Linked DNA regions of Homo sapiens: region 2 is linked to region 1. The links are contacts of gene promoters, found by promoter capture Hi-C in human tissues and cell types (Jung and others, 2019). All regions are on one chromosome and are shown on one strand. Each heading gives the region's core, a stretch centred on a gene start or on the middle of the fragment in contact. The rest is flanking DNA. Distances are from core to core; before and after follow the strand shown.

Region 1 (7,535 bases), core at 4,061-6,560:
CAGTGATGCCCACTTTACAGACGAGAAACCGAGGCCCAGACACAGAAAGGAAGGAACGATCTCAGCTTTCTTGGGGTTGAGCATAAAGGATGTTGGGCACACGGGCAGGGGGCAAGGGTTGAACCGTTGGGGGTTGATAGCATTATCATTTCTGTTGCTGTGGTGTCGGGAATGATGGTGAAGAGGTTGACTTATTGAAGTGCTCACTCTGTGCCTGGCACTGCTGTCCCATTTACACTTACTATCCCATTTAGTCCCCCCAACGACCTCAGGAGGGTAGACACTATCACCTCCATCCCCATCGCACAGACAGGAAACCTGGGCACAGAGAGGTAGAGGCACTTACCCAAGGTCACACAGCCAGCAGGTGGTGCGGATCTGGGAGCTGCCCAGAGTGCTGGAGTATATGTAGAGGCCCAGGAAGCCATGGTGCTCTCAGCCCCCCCACCATCTCCAGCTGGCATCTCCCCCACCCCAGCCACTCCCGCATACCTGCCTCGGATCCCTTCCCCTCGGGGCCAGCCACGAGGGCCTCATCCGACTCGCTGTCCGAGACCTCCAGGGCAGGGCTGTCCAACGGTAAGTCTTCCTCCTCTGATAGCACAGGGCTGGGGTACGGGGCATATGCCGGGGGAACCAGGGTCTGCGGAAGGTCAGGGTCACCTGCATGTCCAGGGACCCCTTGTCTCCCTCCACTTCCTCCTCTCAGGCCAAGGCGGTGGCCCTCCTGGCTCTGGTCTCCCTCTTTGTTGACAGCCTAGATTTTGGCCTTTGTTCAGATCACCACGCTGTGGCCAGGGGACACCTGAGGTACCTCCTCAAAGCCGGCCCAACACAGGTAATGCGAGTCTGCCCTGTCCCTGGCTTCCTGTCACTACCTCTCTTGACTCACTTGTTCAGAGGGGCAACAACGGAACGTAACCTGGGAGGCCGCTGCAGGGCTTACTATGTGCAGTCTCAATGCAGTGCCCGGCACCCAGCAAACCTCAACCAAATGACTGAGCTTGAGTTTTCTTTTCTTTTTCTTTTTTTTTTTTTTTTTTGAGACAGGGTCTTGCTCTGTTGCCCAGACTGGAGTGCAGTGGATTGCCTCGACCTTCTGGGCTCAAGCAATCCTCCTCCCACCTCAGCCTCTCAAGCAGCTGGGATTACAGGCGTGCACCACCACACCTGGTTTGGGCTTGATTTTAACTGTCCCCTTACCACTCACCTGGCTAGCGAAGTTCTCCGTGGGGTATGCAGGGAGGCCAGGCCCCGGGGCCTCCAGGCTGGGGGCCAGTTCGAGGTTCCCTGCAGGGCTGTAGGTGGGGGGTTCGTAGCAGAGCTGGGCAGCCTGGGGGTGGCTAAAAGCGGCTGCTGCCGGGTCGAAGGCTTCATAGGGGGTGGCTGGGACAGGTGGGGCCACAGTCCAGTCCCACAGGGAGTCTGGGGGAAGGGCACTGAGTCAGAAGCTGGGATGTCTCACGGAGGCCTCCTCGCAGTCGAAGCCCCCAGCACAGAGAGGCCATTGTAGGCTGTGCAAATCTCTGACCCCAGGATTTGCATGGAGGAGCGGATGGGTAGGAGAGGAAAGGGGAGGAGGGCTATAGGCCCGGGCCACCTTTATCCTGTTGTGCTAGGAAATGACCTCCCCTGGGCCTCAGCTCCCCTATCTGTGAAATGGGCCCCAAGGCAGGAAGGGCACAGGGCTGGGGTCACTCACCAGGAGCCCCCTCTGAATCAGGGTAGCTGGAATGCTTGCAGCTGTCCAGGTCATAGAAGACGCCATCTGGGTACTGATACGGGGTGCAGGAGGGAAGAGGGGTCATCCCAGGCCTTGGGGACTCCCAACCCCCACCCTGGACCCTTGGGGAGACTCCAACACAGACATGGGAGAGAAGAGGGGATGCTGGAGAGATTAGAGCAACAAAGAAACACAGAGACTAGGCATCAGAGACAGGGACAAAGAGACAGAGATACAGAGAGTAGAGACACAACCCAATAGGGGCACACAGCAGCCAGCTCCTGCTAAGACGGTGGGCTCCCAAGAACCCTGGCCCCTCACTGGCACACAGTCAGCGAATCAGGGCGCCTGGAGAAGGGGTGGAAGAACTCCCCCAGCCTTGCCTGCCTGGGGGCTCCGGAGGTGAAGGGCAAGGGGAAATGGAAGTGTTTCACTTAACAGAGGCAGGGGTCAATGCTTTTTAAATACACCTCCAGGCCAGGCGTGGTGGCTCACGCCTGTCATCCCAACACTTTGGGGGGCCGAGGCGGGCAGATCACCTGAGGTCAGGAGTTCAAGACCAGTCTAGCCAACATGGTGAAATCCCGTCTCTACTAAAAATACAAAAATTAGCTAGGCGTGGTGGCGCACGCCTGTAATCCTAGCACTTTGGGAGGCTGAGGCCAGTGAATCACCTGAGGTCAGGAGTTCGAGACCAGCCTGCACAACATGGGGAAACCCCATCTCTACTGAAAATACAAAAATTAGCTGGGCCTGGTGGCAGATGTCTGTAATCCCAGCTACTCTGGAGGCCGAGGCAGGAGAATCGCTTGAACCTGGGAGGTGGAGGTTGCAGTGAGCTGAGATCGCGCCACTGCACTCCAGCCTGGGTGACAGAGTGAGACTCTGTCTCGAAAAATAAATAGGCCGGGCATGGTGGCTCATGCCTGTAATCCCAGCACTTTGGAAGGCCAAGGCAGGCAGATCATGAGGTCAGGAGATCGATACCAGCCTGGCCAACATGGTGAAACCCCGTCTCTACTAAAAATACAAAAATTAGCCAGGCATGGTGGTGCGCACCTGTAGTCCCAGCTACTTGGGAGGCTGAGGCAGGAGAATCGCTTGAACCCAGGAGGCTGAGGTTGCAGTGAGCCGAGATCGCACCACTGTACTCCAGCCCGGCGACAGAGCAAAACTCTGTCTCAATAAATAAATAAATAAATAAATCTCCATATGTTGATTCGCCCCATGAATCATGTGTTGTTGCTTCAAGAACTCGAGTCTAGGAAAAACTAAAGCTAGATCCACACCATGCCTAGGACCTGGCAGTCTCACTCCTTGGCATTTAATCAAGAGAACTGAAAATGGATGTGCACAAAATAGCCTTGTTCCAGAATCATCCCAGCAGCTTTATTATGAGTCTCCAACTGGAAACAGCCCAGGTGTCATCAACAGAAGAAGGGATAAACAGACTGTGGTGTGGGCTGATCATAGATAGAGTACTATACAGCAAGGAAAAAGGACAAACACTGACACACACTTCATGTTGAGTGAGGGAAGCCAGACCCCAAAAGGGACATGCTGTATGACTCACTTTACATAAAGTTCAAAAGCAGGCAGCTGGGTGCGGTGGCTCACGCCTGTAATCCCAGCAATTTGGGAGGCTGAGGTGGGAGGATCACTTGAGCTCAGGAGTTTGAAACCAGCCCGGATAACATGGTGAAACCCTGCCTCTACTAAAAATACAAAAATTAGCTGGGCATGGTGGCACATGCCTGTAATCCCAGCTACTTGGGAGGCTGAGGCAGGAGAATTGCTTGAACCCGGGAGGTGGAGCTTGCAGTGAGCCAAGACGCTGCCACTGCACTCCAGCCTGGGTGACAGAGCGAGACTCCTTCTCAAAAAGCAAAACAAAAAAAAGAGCAGGCAAAACAAATTACAAATTGGTGGCGGAAAATATCAGAGAAAGGTATTGACTGAGAAGGGACAGGAAGGAATATTTCAGAGATTGAAATGTTCGGTATCTTGATCTGGCTTGTGGCTACACGGTGTATAGATAATGCAAAAACACAAGATTTGTCACTTTACTGACTTGTTAGTTACACTTCAATTAAAAAACAAACAAACAAAAACAAACAAAAAAAACATGGCTGGGGTGTGAATGTGGAGGGGCATAAACAGGGGCTTTCTTTCAACCACATCAGTAAGATTTGATTACTCAGACTGGATTGTGGGTTCAAGGGTGTTGGGTATAGTATTCCGTATCTGAACTGTTAGAGAACACAATTTTTAAAAATACGAACAAAAAGAAGGAAAGGAACATGAAAATACATTGTCTGAATATGGGATGGGCAGAGAGAGATACAAAGCCACAAGGAAGTGGATTCAAGCCTGAGAGGGGGAGAGAGACATCAAAAATACGGATGCGGGGTAGCAGGAGATACCAAGGGGGAGCTCAGAAACAAAGTGACAGGAAGAGGTGGGAGGGGAAACTGAGGCAGGAAGCAAATGACTTCTCTGAGGGAGGTCACTGTGGGCCACCCCTCCCTGGCCCCCAGGGGCCCCAACTCACCAGACAGCTGAAGTGTGGCCCGTCGAGCCTGGAGGGGGAGAGACACAGGGGCATGCTGAGGCTGCCTCCAGCCACCTGAATCTCAAAGTGGTTGGGGGCTGATGGGGAGGCGGCAGCAGCTGTGACCACCGCAGCCCTGTGTGAGGGACCAGCCCCACCACATTCACCGGACTCCCCCACTACCCCCTGCTGGGACAGGAAGTGGGGGGTGGGGGGGAGGCAAATGTCCCCCTCCTCCCCAGAATTTGCATAGACACCCTGGTGGGGAGGGGCAGGGAAAGTGAGGGAGAGAAAGTCCCGGAAAGGAGGTGTGGGGATGGAGAGGGGGCCTGGGTCAAGTGCGGCCTTGGTGGCGAGTCAGTTGAGTCCAGCTTGGACCAGAGGAGAAGGATGGAGAGATGTCTGGGTAGAGAGGGGGAAGCCCGGAGAAGACTCAGATGAGGAGGCTCAAGGAGAGGTGGGACACAGAGAAAGGTGTGCAAAGGGACATTCACGCACAGAGGCGGGGAGGATTCCTGGAGCCCCAGATGGAGGCACTGAGAGTGAGGGTGAGGCAGAAGGAGACCAAAAGGCAGGGAGAGCGAGAACTGGAGACAGAGACACAGAGACAGGCAGAGAGACAGAGAGCAACAGGCAGAATGTTGAGAGCTGGGAGATGCCAGATACAGAGCGAACAGATACGGGAACTCGGGGAGACAGGAGGATGGACAGAGTGAGAGCCACGGAGGACGCCCGCAGGAGGGCACGCTAGCAAGTGTTCTGGGGAAATGAGATCTTTGGGGACCAGGAAAGATAGGAACTGGGGGGATGGAGAGTCCGAAGTGAAGAGGGAACAGAACCAGAAGGGGCAAGAGACAGGGTGGACCCCTCCCCTCCACTCCCACCCACCGGCCGTGAGGAGCAGAGAAACCACTGCCCATGGGTGAGGCCCCACAGAGGGGCAGTGCAGGTGGGGACCCCGGGTGCAGGTTTGGGGGCCCTCACTTACTGTGCAGCCTCCAGGGCGAGCATGGTGGTGCCGGGCGGGCTGTTTGCCGCCCGCTGCAGCCGCCAACCCTATTTATATCTTGGCCCAGCCCCTGCCGGGGGGAGGAGGGTGCCCGCTGGCCACAAGCTCGGCCCTCCTCAAAAATCCCCTCAGGGAGGGGGTCAGGGGAGGGGGCTGGATTGCACAACCCCTTTGTCACATGGCAGGGATGGCGGGCCAGGGGCTGTCTGGATTTGGGGATCCCCGTGGGGCTGGGTTTGGGGGGCTGACCTTGAGGGCTGGAGATGGGACAGGAGCTGGATTTGGGGGAACCCTGAAAACATCGAGGAAGGGCTGGGGTTCACTGAAGAGGAGAATCAGGAAACGGAGGATCTGGACCCAGGAGCCGAATTCCAGCAGGGGCGGGCTGGGGGCCGAGGGGCAAGCACAAGACTCTCCCCGGGGGATGTGTGAGGTGACGGGAGGGCCGAGGGCATCTGACGGCAGTTAGAGGCTGCGGGGATAGAGATGGGAGTCGCTGGGGGGAAACCCAGACCCAAAGCCCATTGCCAGGACCCCGACGTGGAAACATCGTGGGTGTGTGGTCCGGCGGGGGATGGGGGGGTCCCCTTGGCCGGGCTGAGGAGTGGAAGCCCCGGTGCGCCTGGGGCTGCCCCAGGGCCTGGAGGAAACAGGTCAGCACCTGGAGGGCGGGGCAGCCACCAGGGTCCCCAGGGTCATCACCAGGGAGGGCTGGGCCGGGGCCAGACACCTGGGGGCCCTAAGCAGGGCAGAGAAGCGCTGGTATAAGGGTTCCTTCAGGGCCAGAGAGGAAACTGAGGCAGGCTTGGCCCACATGAACCAGGCAGCACAGGTGGGAGTCCGGGGGCTTTTGCTGAGGATGAGGGGCGGTGCGGGCCTCAGGAGGGTCCCAGCCAAGGCCAGGGCTTATGAAACCAGACAGTGTCCCCCAGAGACCACAAAGCACCATATAGCAAAAGTCCAGAACTTTATTAATTCTCCCTGGTCCCGCCCCCGCCCCATGGGATGCTTGCAAGGTCACCAGGCCTCAGGTCCAGGGGGTCCGAAGCGCCGCAGGAGCTGCTCCTGGTCTTCCAGGTCCTTCCGCACCTTCTTGCGCATGTAGAAGATGGGGCAGTCCCGGCTGCGGGTGGGGGCAGGGGCAGGGTCAGGACCAGCCAAGGCCCAGTGCCCAGCCTGGGAGAGGGGTGGGGGCTGTTCCCAGGACTTTGGTCCCCGCCTGCTGCCCAGCCCACCCGCCCCCTCCCGCAGCGGGCTGTTTGCTCAGCAGGCACGGGGGGGGTGGGGGGGGGGAGCCGATAACAGCGGGTGCCTGGCGAGGTGCAGGGCCATGGCTGGCCGTATATCACCTGTCACCTGGCGTGGGAACCCACCCCGCCTACCCGTTCCCTGGGGAAAGCCCGGCCCCGCCCTGGGGAGGGGGCCAGGCTGGCTGGGTGTGTCGGGAGGACAGCCGTTTCCCGGGCAACACTGGGTGCCGGGCGCTGCCTCCCTAAGCACCCACCCCCTCTGGGGGGCTGGGATGGGCCCATTTTTCAGACAAGGACACTGAGGCTCAGGACAGCTCACAGCTGGAAGGGGATGGGCGGGGAGGATGCTCAGGAGAGGCCTTGGAGTCAGAGGTTGGGTCCACAACCCACAGGCCTGGGAGCTGGGAAGGGGCGGGGCAGCCCAGGGTCGGGACATGGCACACACCTGGTGCAGATGACGTCCTCGTGCAGGCTGCCCTGGCAGCGCTGGCACTGCGTCCAGAGGCGCGAGAAGCGCTCCTCCAGGGCATTCAGATGGGATACCTGGGGACGGCAGCGGCTGAGCAGGGCGCCCCCGCCTCCCCACCTGGCCCCTCCTCACCTCCCGGCCCTCTCACCTCCTTCTGATACAGCTCAGACTCCCGGGGCTGGCAGAACTCACACACGGCTCCTGTGGGGAGGCGGGTCAGCCCAAGTGCTGGGGCCCAGCCAGGAACTGGGCCACCCCATCCCTGCCCACTGCCAATCCCAGCTTCTGAAAGTCCCCAGAGGCTGGAGAACAACGGAGCAAGTGTGCTGGGAAAACTCCCCTGGGGAACTCCCGGGGTGGGGGCCGAGGACCCTCTGTGGGGGGTGGAGACAGGGGCCACCCACCCAGGGGCCCTGGGCCCACTGGGTGGCAGTGCCAGCCGATGGGGTGGGTGTCTAGGATCTGGGGTGACGGCAGAGCAGGTTGAGGGCCAGTGGGGGCCCAGTGGCCAGGGCCGCTCACCCTGGTGGCTG
Region 2 (7,535 bases), core at 3,359-5,858, 380 kb before region 1:
TATCCTGCCAGGGTCCCAGTGAGAGGCAGCTGCCCCTTCCCCATGTCACAGAAGGTTCTGGTGAAGTCAGAGCAGCTTAGAAGAGCTGGGCCGGGGGCAGCAGAGGCGATTGAGGGGTATCCCGTTAGGCATGGGAGGCCCAAGCAGAAGGGTTTGGCCCCGTCCTCTCACTGAACCCCACAGATGTGCCTGTCTGCAGGCATCTCTAGTCCCGTTTTCCAGAGAAACACTGCTGCTGGGGGGCGGGGAGGGGTGAGGTCAGTGGGCCTAGATCATACAAGGAGCCATACCCAGGCTGAGCTGGATGGGGAGGGGAGGTAGCCTGGCACCCCCAGGGACCAAGTGTCATTCAGTTTGTTGCCTGATCTCTCAGCACTCTTCTGTGATGTCCCCCTTAGGACAGTAGGTGGTCCTGGGACCCACATCAGGAGGGGGTGAGGGCACCGGGGCCTCCATGATGTCCAGCACTGGGCTCCGACTGCCACTGAGGACACGGTGCCCCCCGGGACCTTTGACACCCGGGGGTCTGAGGGGCCCTGGCTCTGGGGAGGGCTGGTGGGTATCTTGGCTGCCCTGCACCCCACTGACCTTCTCCCCTCCCCTGTGCCCTCCTGCCTCCAGGTGCTGAAGGGCCTGACCATCACTCATTAAGAACAGAGGAGGCTGCCTGTTACTCCTGGTGTTGGTGAGAAGGCAGATGTAGACAGGTGCCCAGCAAGTGCTGAGCCAGGCGCTGCCCTAAGCACTGGGCTCATTAACCTTAGTAACCCTGTTGGGGGGCGGAGGTGGGATGGGGGCTGGGGCTGGGTTGCAGTGAGATGTCCAGTGTCCAGGGTTCTTGAAAGGGCTGCACTTGGGGACCCCGTGATGTCCAGCACTGGGCTCTGACTGCCCCTGAGGACACGGTGCACCCCGGGACCTTTGACATCCGGGGTTCTGAGGGGCCCCACTCCGGGAGGTGATGGTGGGGGTGTGGCTGTTTCCCCCATTCGTGCCTTTTCTGTGTCCTTCCCCTGACAGCATCCCTCCAGACACTCTGCTGTTTCCTGCCTAGGCGTGGCTGCAGCCATGGCTAGGAAAGCGCTGCCACCCACCCACCTGGGCCAGAGCTGGTTCTGCTCCTGCTGCAGGGACACTGAGCTGGCTATCTCGGCGCTTCGGGCAAGAACTGCAACAGGCTCTCCTGGGTCCTGCAGGTGTACAGCCGGGCCCCTGCCTTGTGCCTCAGCTCTCGAGAGCTGCTGCTGCCGGGTGACCTGATCCAACCTGATAAGGTGCCATCTTCAGCTACCACTGCAAGGCCCTGAGGGCAACAGCAGCACGGCACTGCCCACCCGGCTGCTGATGGCCTGGTGCCAGCTGGGAGTCCTCCCGGCACTTCGAGGCCACTGAGCCACCCTTCCAGCCCCAGCCCACCATGGACAGGGGTATCCAGCTTCCTCCTCAACCTCGTCCTCTGCCCCTGAGCCAGTGACGCCCAAGGACATGCCTGTTACCCAGGTCCTGTACCAGCACTAGCTGGTCAAGGGCATGACAGTGCTGGAGGCCGTCTTGGAGATCCAGGCCATCACTGGCAGCAGGCTGCTCTCCATGGTGCCAGGGCCCGCCAGGCCACCAGGCTCATGCTGGGACCCAACCCAGTGCACAAGGACTTGGCTGCTGAGCCACACACCCAGGAGAAGGTGGATAAGTGGGCTACCAAGGGCTTCCTGCAGGCTAGGGGAGGAGCCACCCCCGCTTCCCTATTGTGACCAGGCCTATGGGGAGGAGCTGTCCATACGCCACCGTGAGACCTGGGCCTGGCTCTCAAGGACAGACACCGCCTGGCCTGGTGCTCCAGGGGTGAAGCAGGCCAGAATCCTGGGGGAGCTGCTCCTGGTTTGAGCTGCATTCAGGAAGTGCGGGACATGGTAGGGGAGGCAAAAAGCCTTGGGCACTACCCTCCCTGTGGAGCTGTTCGGTGTCCGTCGAGCTAGCCACACCCTGACACCATGTTCAAGGGTACCGGAAGAGAAGGGTGTCTGCCCCCAACCTCCCCTGTGGGTGTCACTGGCCAGATGTCATGAGGGAAGCAGGCCTTGTGAGTGGACACTGACCATGAGTCCCTGGGGGGAGTGATCCCCCAGGCATCGTGTGCCATGTTGCACTTCTGCCCAGGCAGCAGGGTGGGTGGGTACCATGGGTGCCCACCCCTCCACCACATGGGGCCCCAAAGCACTGCAGGCCAAGCAGGGCAACCCCACACCCTTGACATAAAAGCATCTTGAAGCTTTTACTCCGTTTTTATAAGGATTGGTTTGTTTTGTGTTTTTGAGACTGTTTTGCTCTTGATGCCCAGGCTGGAGTGCAATGGCGCAATCTCAGCTCACTGTAACCGCCACCTCCTGGGTCCAGGTGATTCTCCTGCCTCAGCCTCCGGAGTAGCTGGGATTACAGGCACCTGCCACCACGCCTGGCTAGTTTTGTATTTTCAGTAGAGATGAGGTTTCACCATTGTTGGCCATGGTGGTCTCAAACTTATGACCTCAGGTGATCCGCCCACCTCGGCCTCCCAAAGTGCTGGGATTACAGGTGTGAGCCACCATGCCTGGCCTGTCACGGGTTTTCTCTTAAGGTCTCTGTTGCTATGCCTTCTCTGAAAGCGTGCATTGGCTGTGTGCTGTGGGCAGCCAGTCCCTTCTGATGGGTCTGCTTTTGCTGTGTGTGGCTTCTGTGTTGGTCTGGGTTTAGGGTGTGCTGGGGCCGGAATCTCAGGTGACAGCTCTGTGAGGACTCACTGAGCCCTAGCAGTTCTGACCTCACAGCTGAGGCCTTGGGCACAGGGGCCCCTGTTAAACAGCGGACAGAACACTCCAAACTCTGGTGCTTCATCCTCTGTGGGTTCAGCTGCTGAGCTGCGTCCAGGGGGAGCCACCCAGGCCTCTGCCCACTAGCAGGCCCCCAGCTCTGAACAGGTCCTTCCAGCAGGCTGCTGGGAAAGGGTGGGCTCTTGCCACCAGGTGGGAGTTGGTCACAGCCACAGGTAACCCCACCTGGCACTTGGGGTCTCCATGAACCTGCAAGGAAGCCAGGCTCCCTCCCAGGGCCAGAAAGTGTGAGGGGTGTTCATTCCTCAGCCTTCCCAGGGTCGTGGCTCCTGGCATCCATCTGGGGTGGCCCATGACCACCCAGCTCCTCTAGGGAATGCCGGGTAGGGCAGTGAGGCAGGTCTGGGGACTCCCCAGGGATGAGTCTGCATGAGAGGCTGCCCTCAGCACCCTGGGAAGAAATGGGCTAGGGCAGTATGCAGGTGGCCCTTGTGTGGAGGAAGGGTTGTCCCAGCTTCCACTCCCTGGCGTTTCTGGATCCTGTGCCTTTTTTAGGTCCTGGGTCACTGGGAATGGCTTTGAACCTTTCTCCGACTGCCCCATCTAATGGGGGCCAAGTGGCTGTTATTAAGCATCCACTGTACCAGGGCTCCCTACGGGTTCCCTGGTTAGACAGTGCCACACAGCCATGGGTGTGGGGCAAGGCCTGGGAGGGGCGGGCGCTCTGCTCTAGGCCACACTATGGGAGCCTCCCCTTGGGGGGCCAGGGGCTCAAAGGGCACCCGTGCAGGTGCTCCACAGCGCCTGCTGCTGCATGAGTGTGGGAGGAGTAGCTCTCATCAGCATCTGAGAAATGATTGCAGTGGTGGATGTGTGGCCCATGTGATGGTTGGGAGCTGAACACTCCATTTTATTTAACCTAAATTTAAATAGCCATACATGGTCATGGCTACTGTATTGGCCAGCGCCTCCACATTACTTGTAGCAGTTACAGTGCACAGCCGAGAGTGTCATCGGTTTTCCCTGCTCTCTACCTGTCCCTAGGAAGTTAATTTTTGGAGTTGTGGAGTCCACTGGGTTAGAGTCGTGGTTCTGCCAAGTGAGACACATCAGGGCCTATCACTTGCCCAGAGGCGCACAGCCTCGGAAACCAGGCTTTGAATCGTGCACCTTTCTCAGGTCTGCTGCCAGATCCCTCTGACTCTACCCAAGTTCATGGTTGCATTGAGAGCTATGGAGGTCACCAAATAACCAGACTTGAGGGTCCAACTCCTGTGAGCCTGGTCTCCACAGAGCACATGGTCCACATTGAGGCTCACTGAGTAAGGCCTTGTCACAAGCTGCAAGTGGAGGTACGTACAGGGTCCACCATGTCCTCAGCCAGCCTACCTGCTTCCAGTGCTCATATGGAAAGGTGCATAAACATACCACCTGGGTGTGGTGGCTCACACCTGTAATCCCAGTGCTTTGGGAGGCCATGGCAGGAGGATTGCTTGAGGCCAGGAATTTGAGACCAACCTGGCCAACATACCAAGAAAACAAAATTAACCAGGCATTGTGCACGCCTGTAGAAGCTGAAACAGGAGGGTCACTTGAGACAGGAGTTCAAAGCTGCAGTGAGCTATGCTCATGCCAGTACTCCAGCCTGGGCCACAAAGACCTTGTCTCTACAAGAAAAGTGCCATGCAGGCATGCCTGCTTGTTCAGACATGGGTACATTTGTGCTTGAATGTGTGTCACAGACATGTTTTTTACCAGCATGTACGTACAGACCACCTGTGCACGCGTCTAAGTGCAGAAACTGTTCACACATGTGACACGTATGCATGCACACTCATGCCACCGTCACACAGACACATGCACACACAAACTAGTTTCCAGGCCGGAGACTCCACACAGCCCTCGCTCCCCATGCACACAGGCGCACAGTAAGTCACAGAAGCCAGAGCAGCTACTGAGCATACATGTTGGGGTCCAGTGTCAGCTGGGGGTAGGGAAGCCCTGGTTTCTGGCTCACACGGGGCCCCCCAAGGCCCGCAGGCACCCTGGTCTCCAGGCCAGCAGGCCCAGCCCCAAGCTGAGTGCCACCAGCACAGCTACAGCTCCGGCCAGCAGGGGCACCACTGGAGCTGCAGGGAGAACACGCGGGGGGTGAGTGCCAGGACTTGGCAACCCTCCACTCCCACCCCAACACAGAGGACTGTCACCTGGGGGGATGGCAGCCTCATAGGGGCCATGGCAGGAGACCCCATGGGCGGGAGGCCGGGCCGGGGCAGTCAGCTGGTAGAAGCGGCCTAGTGGACAGGGGGCCGGGCACCCGGGGAGGCTGAGAGGCAGGGGCAGGTGGGCGGAGTCATTGCGGTAGAAGAGGGAGACGGTGACATTCCTGGAGAGAGAGGACATGGTGGCACCTCCTCCCTCCTGTCATTGATCTTAAAGCCTGGAGAAAAGGGCTTCTGACTCCCACCTGTCATCCTCCCAGCATCATCCCATGCAGCTCCCCACCTGGCCATGCCCTCTGCCTGACACATCACCCCTTGCTTTGAGAGTTCTGTCCCACCCATGTCCCTGGGCACCAAACCATTCTCACCCTCCATCTTTGGCGGGATTCCCCAGGTGCTTCCGGAACTCAAAGCCGAGGCAGGCAGCATATGGCGGGGTGTGTCCATCATAGAGGCCCAGGGCCCCCTGGAGGGCCAGCAGGGTGCTGTCATGCTGCAGGTGGACCCGAGGGCTGAGACGGCACTTCTCTCTGGAGGCCTTTCTCCTGAGCACTACACTTGCGCATCCAGATGTCCCCCAGGCTTCTTAGAACCAACCCCCCAAAGCTACTCCTTCCTCCCATCCTGAAGGCAGTACCAACATTTGCAGGCGGCCACTTAATAAAGATTGCTCAAGTAGGTGCAAAATATGATTGGACTAAGCAGCCTTTCTCCTCCGGAAGGACAGACTGCTTAGTCCAATCATAGTTTCTTAAAGAAAACAAGGAATTATATTTATTCATAAATTCTTCCTCCCATAACACCGTCACCTCCCTCTTTCCAGACTAATGGTAGAGCCTGAGAGTAGGGTTTGGAGATACGGGTTACCCCAGGCAGTGGGCTGAGATCCACTGGGACCACAGGCTCTTCCTCACCTAAATCGCTGTCACCCTCATCCCTGTGCCTCAGTGCCATGTGGCACTGCTTCCCAAGGACTCACAGCTGAGTACATGACCATCTTGAGGGGCAGCCCCAGGCGCTGGACCCGGGAGAAGTTTGCAAGGATAGCATTCAGCAGGATCCCTGAGGATGGGAAAAAAGAGCTTAGACTCTCCCAGAGGAAGGCACCCCAGCCTCCCAGACCCACACCTCACCCCCTGTCAGCTGGGCCTTCTCTGCTGCCCGGGGTGGGCCCACGTGGGCTCCAATATCCAAAGCCGAGATCTGGGCAAGAGTCCGCAGGACATCTGGGGAGGCCCAGGCTGGTAGTGGAAGACCGTGGGCTTGCTGTGGGGAGACAGGACAGATGGACCATCCTGAGCCCTCGAGTTTGCCTCTGGCCCCGCAGGCCTGTGCTGCCCCCTGCTCTTCTGAGTCCCCCCATGGGCCGGATCTGGATCTGGCTGGGAAATCATGATGTGGATAACAGTGTTTTTTTGTTGTTGTTTTTTGTTTTGAAACGGAGCCTTGCTCCATCACCTAGGCTGGAGTGCAGTAGCGCAATCTTGGCTGTCTGCAACCCTTGCCTCTCGGGTTCAGGTGATTCTCCTGCCTCAGCCTCCCAAGTAGCTGTGATTACAAGTGTGTGCCACCATTCCTGGCTAATTTTTTTTTTTTATTTTTAGTAGAGACGGGGTTTTACCGTGTTGGTCAGACTGGTCTGAAACTCCTGACCTCAGGTGATCTGCCCACCTCAGCCTCTCAAAGTGGTGGGATTACAGGTGTGAGCCACCACACCCAGCCAACAGCGATTATTAGTTAATAATAGACATCGTCATTACACAGCCCAGAAGGCTTTATCTGAAACCCCTGGGGCCAGAGGTATTTCACAGCTCAGACATTCTGGACTTTAGAAAGGTCTGATGGTGCTGACACCACACAGCATGGAACACACACAGCAAGGGCCGGGGCAGCCCCCTTAGTCACACACATCACTGCTCCCACCCTGCGATTCAGAACATTCCCGTGAGCTGGAGTGAGCAAAGACTAGCAAGAGTACTAGCTGGGTATGGTGGCTCACGCCTGTAATCCCAGCTCTTGGGGAGGCGAAAGGATTGTTTGAGCCCAGGAGTTCCTGGGCAACATAGACCCCATCTCTGCAAAAAATTAATTTTTTTTTAATTAGCCAGGCATGATGGTGTGCCCCTGCCTGCCTCAGCTACTTGGGAGGCTGAGGCAGGAGAATTCCTATAGCCAGGGAGATGGAGGCTGCAGTGAGCTATGATAATGCCATTGCACTCCAGCCTGGGTGACAGAGTGAGATCCTGTCTCCAAAAAAAAAAAAAAAAAAAAAAGCATTGCATCATTTCAGGTCAGCTCCCGCTGCCCAGGTTTTGGGTTTTCTGATTATAGGACTGTGGGGAGGAGTTGCCAAATGTGTAGCCTCAAACCCTGGCAAGGCCCTCACTGTACACCAGGCACTATTGTAAGCACAGTGCGTGGATTAACCCATTTGAATCCTCACAGCGTCCTGGGGAGGTGTTGATACCGGTGTTGCCATCCCCACTGTGCAGATGGGAAAACTGAG

Evidence for each region. Contacts are between HindIII fragments. The study calls those that stand out against the background at their distance.
Region 2: a fragment that was not itself captured here is called in contact with the fragment with the promoter of SPIB in region 1 in 1 of the 25 tissues and cell types used here (spleen).

What each region holds. Positions count from the first base shown.
Region 1 is chr19:50,416,713-50,424,247 of GRCh38, reverse strand. SPIB (Spi-B transcription factor) reads right to left here and starts at 5,310. Exons shown (of 6, transcript NM_003121.5): 1 at 5,263-5,310; 2 at 4,275-4,302; 3 at 1,703-1,775; 4 at 1,211-1,425; 5 at 493-643. The coding sequence starts at 5,285. POLD1 (DNA polymerase delta 1, catalytic subunit) reads right to left here. Exons shown (of 27, transcript NM_002691.4): 24 at 7,525-7,535; 25 at 7,151-7,203; 26 at 6,979-7,076; 27 at 6,234-6,406. The coding sequence ends at 6,301. RefSeq lists an enhancer at 4,414-4,463 and silencers at 6,003-6,171, 6,454-6,513, 6,544-6,683. The HindIII fragment of the contact is 45,060 bases long and covers 1-7,535 here.
Region 2 is chr19:50,792,444-50,799,978 of GRCh38, reverse strand. It overlaps ACP4 (acid phosphatase 4), which reads right to left. Exons shown (of 11, transcript NM_033068.3): 7 at 6,163-6,295; 8 at 6,009-6,091; 9 at 5,398-5,522; 10 at 5,015-5,193; 11 at 4,760-4,936. The coding sequence ends at 4,821. It overlaps SNORD88B (small nucleolar RNA, C/D box 88B), which reads left to right and starts at 854; the gene lies at 854-950. SNORD88A (small nucleolar RNA, C/D box 88A) reads left to right here and starts at 444; the gene lies at 444-540. It overlaps LOC105372439 (a long non-coding RNA gene), which reads left to right and starts at 6,681. Exons shown (of 4, transcript XR_936026.3): 1 at 6,681-7,014; 2 at 7,475-7,535. It also overlaps the pseudogene C19orf48P. RefSeq lists enhancers at 2,875-2,994, 5,415-5,544, 5,635-5,694 and silencers at 4,575-4,634, 4,885-4,944. The HindIII fragment of the contact is 9,212 bases long and covers 3-7,535 here.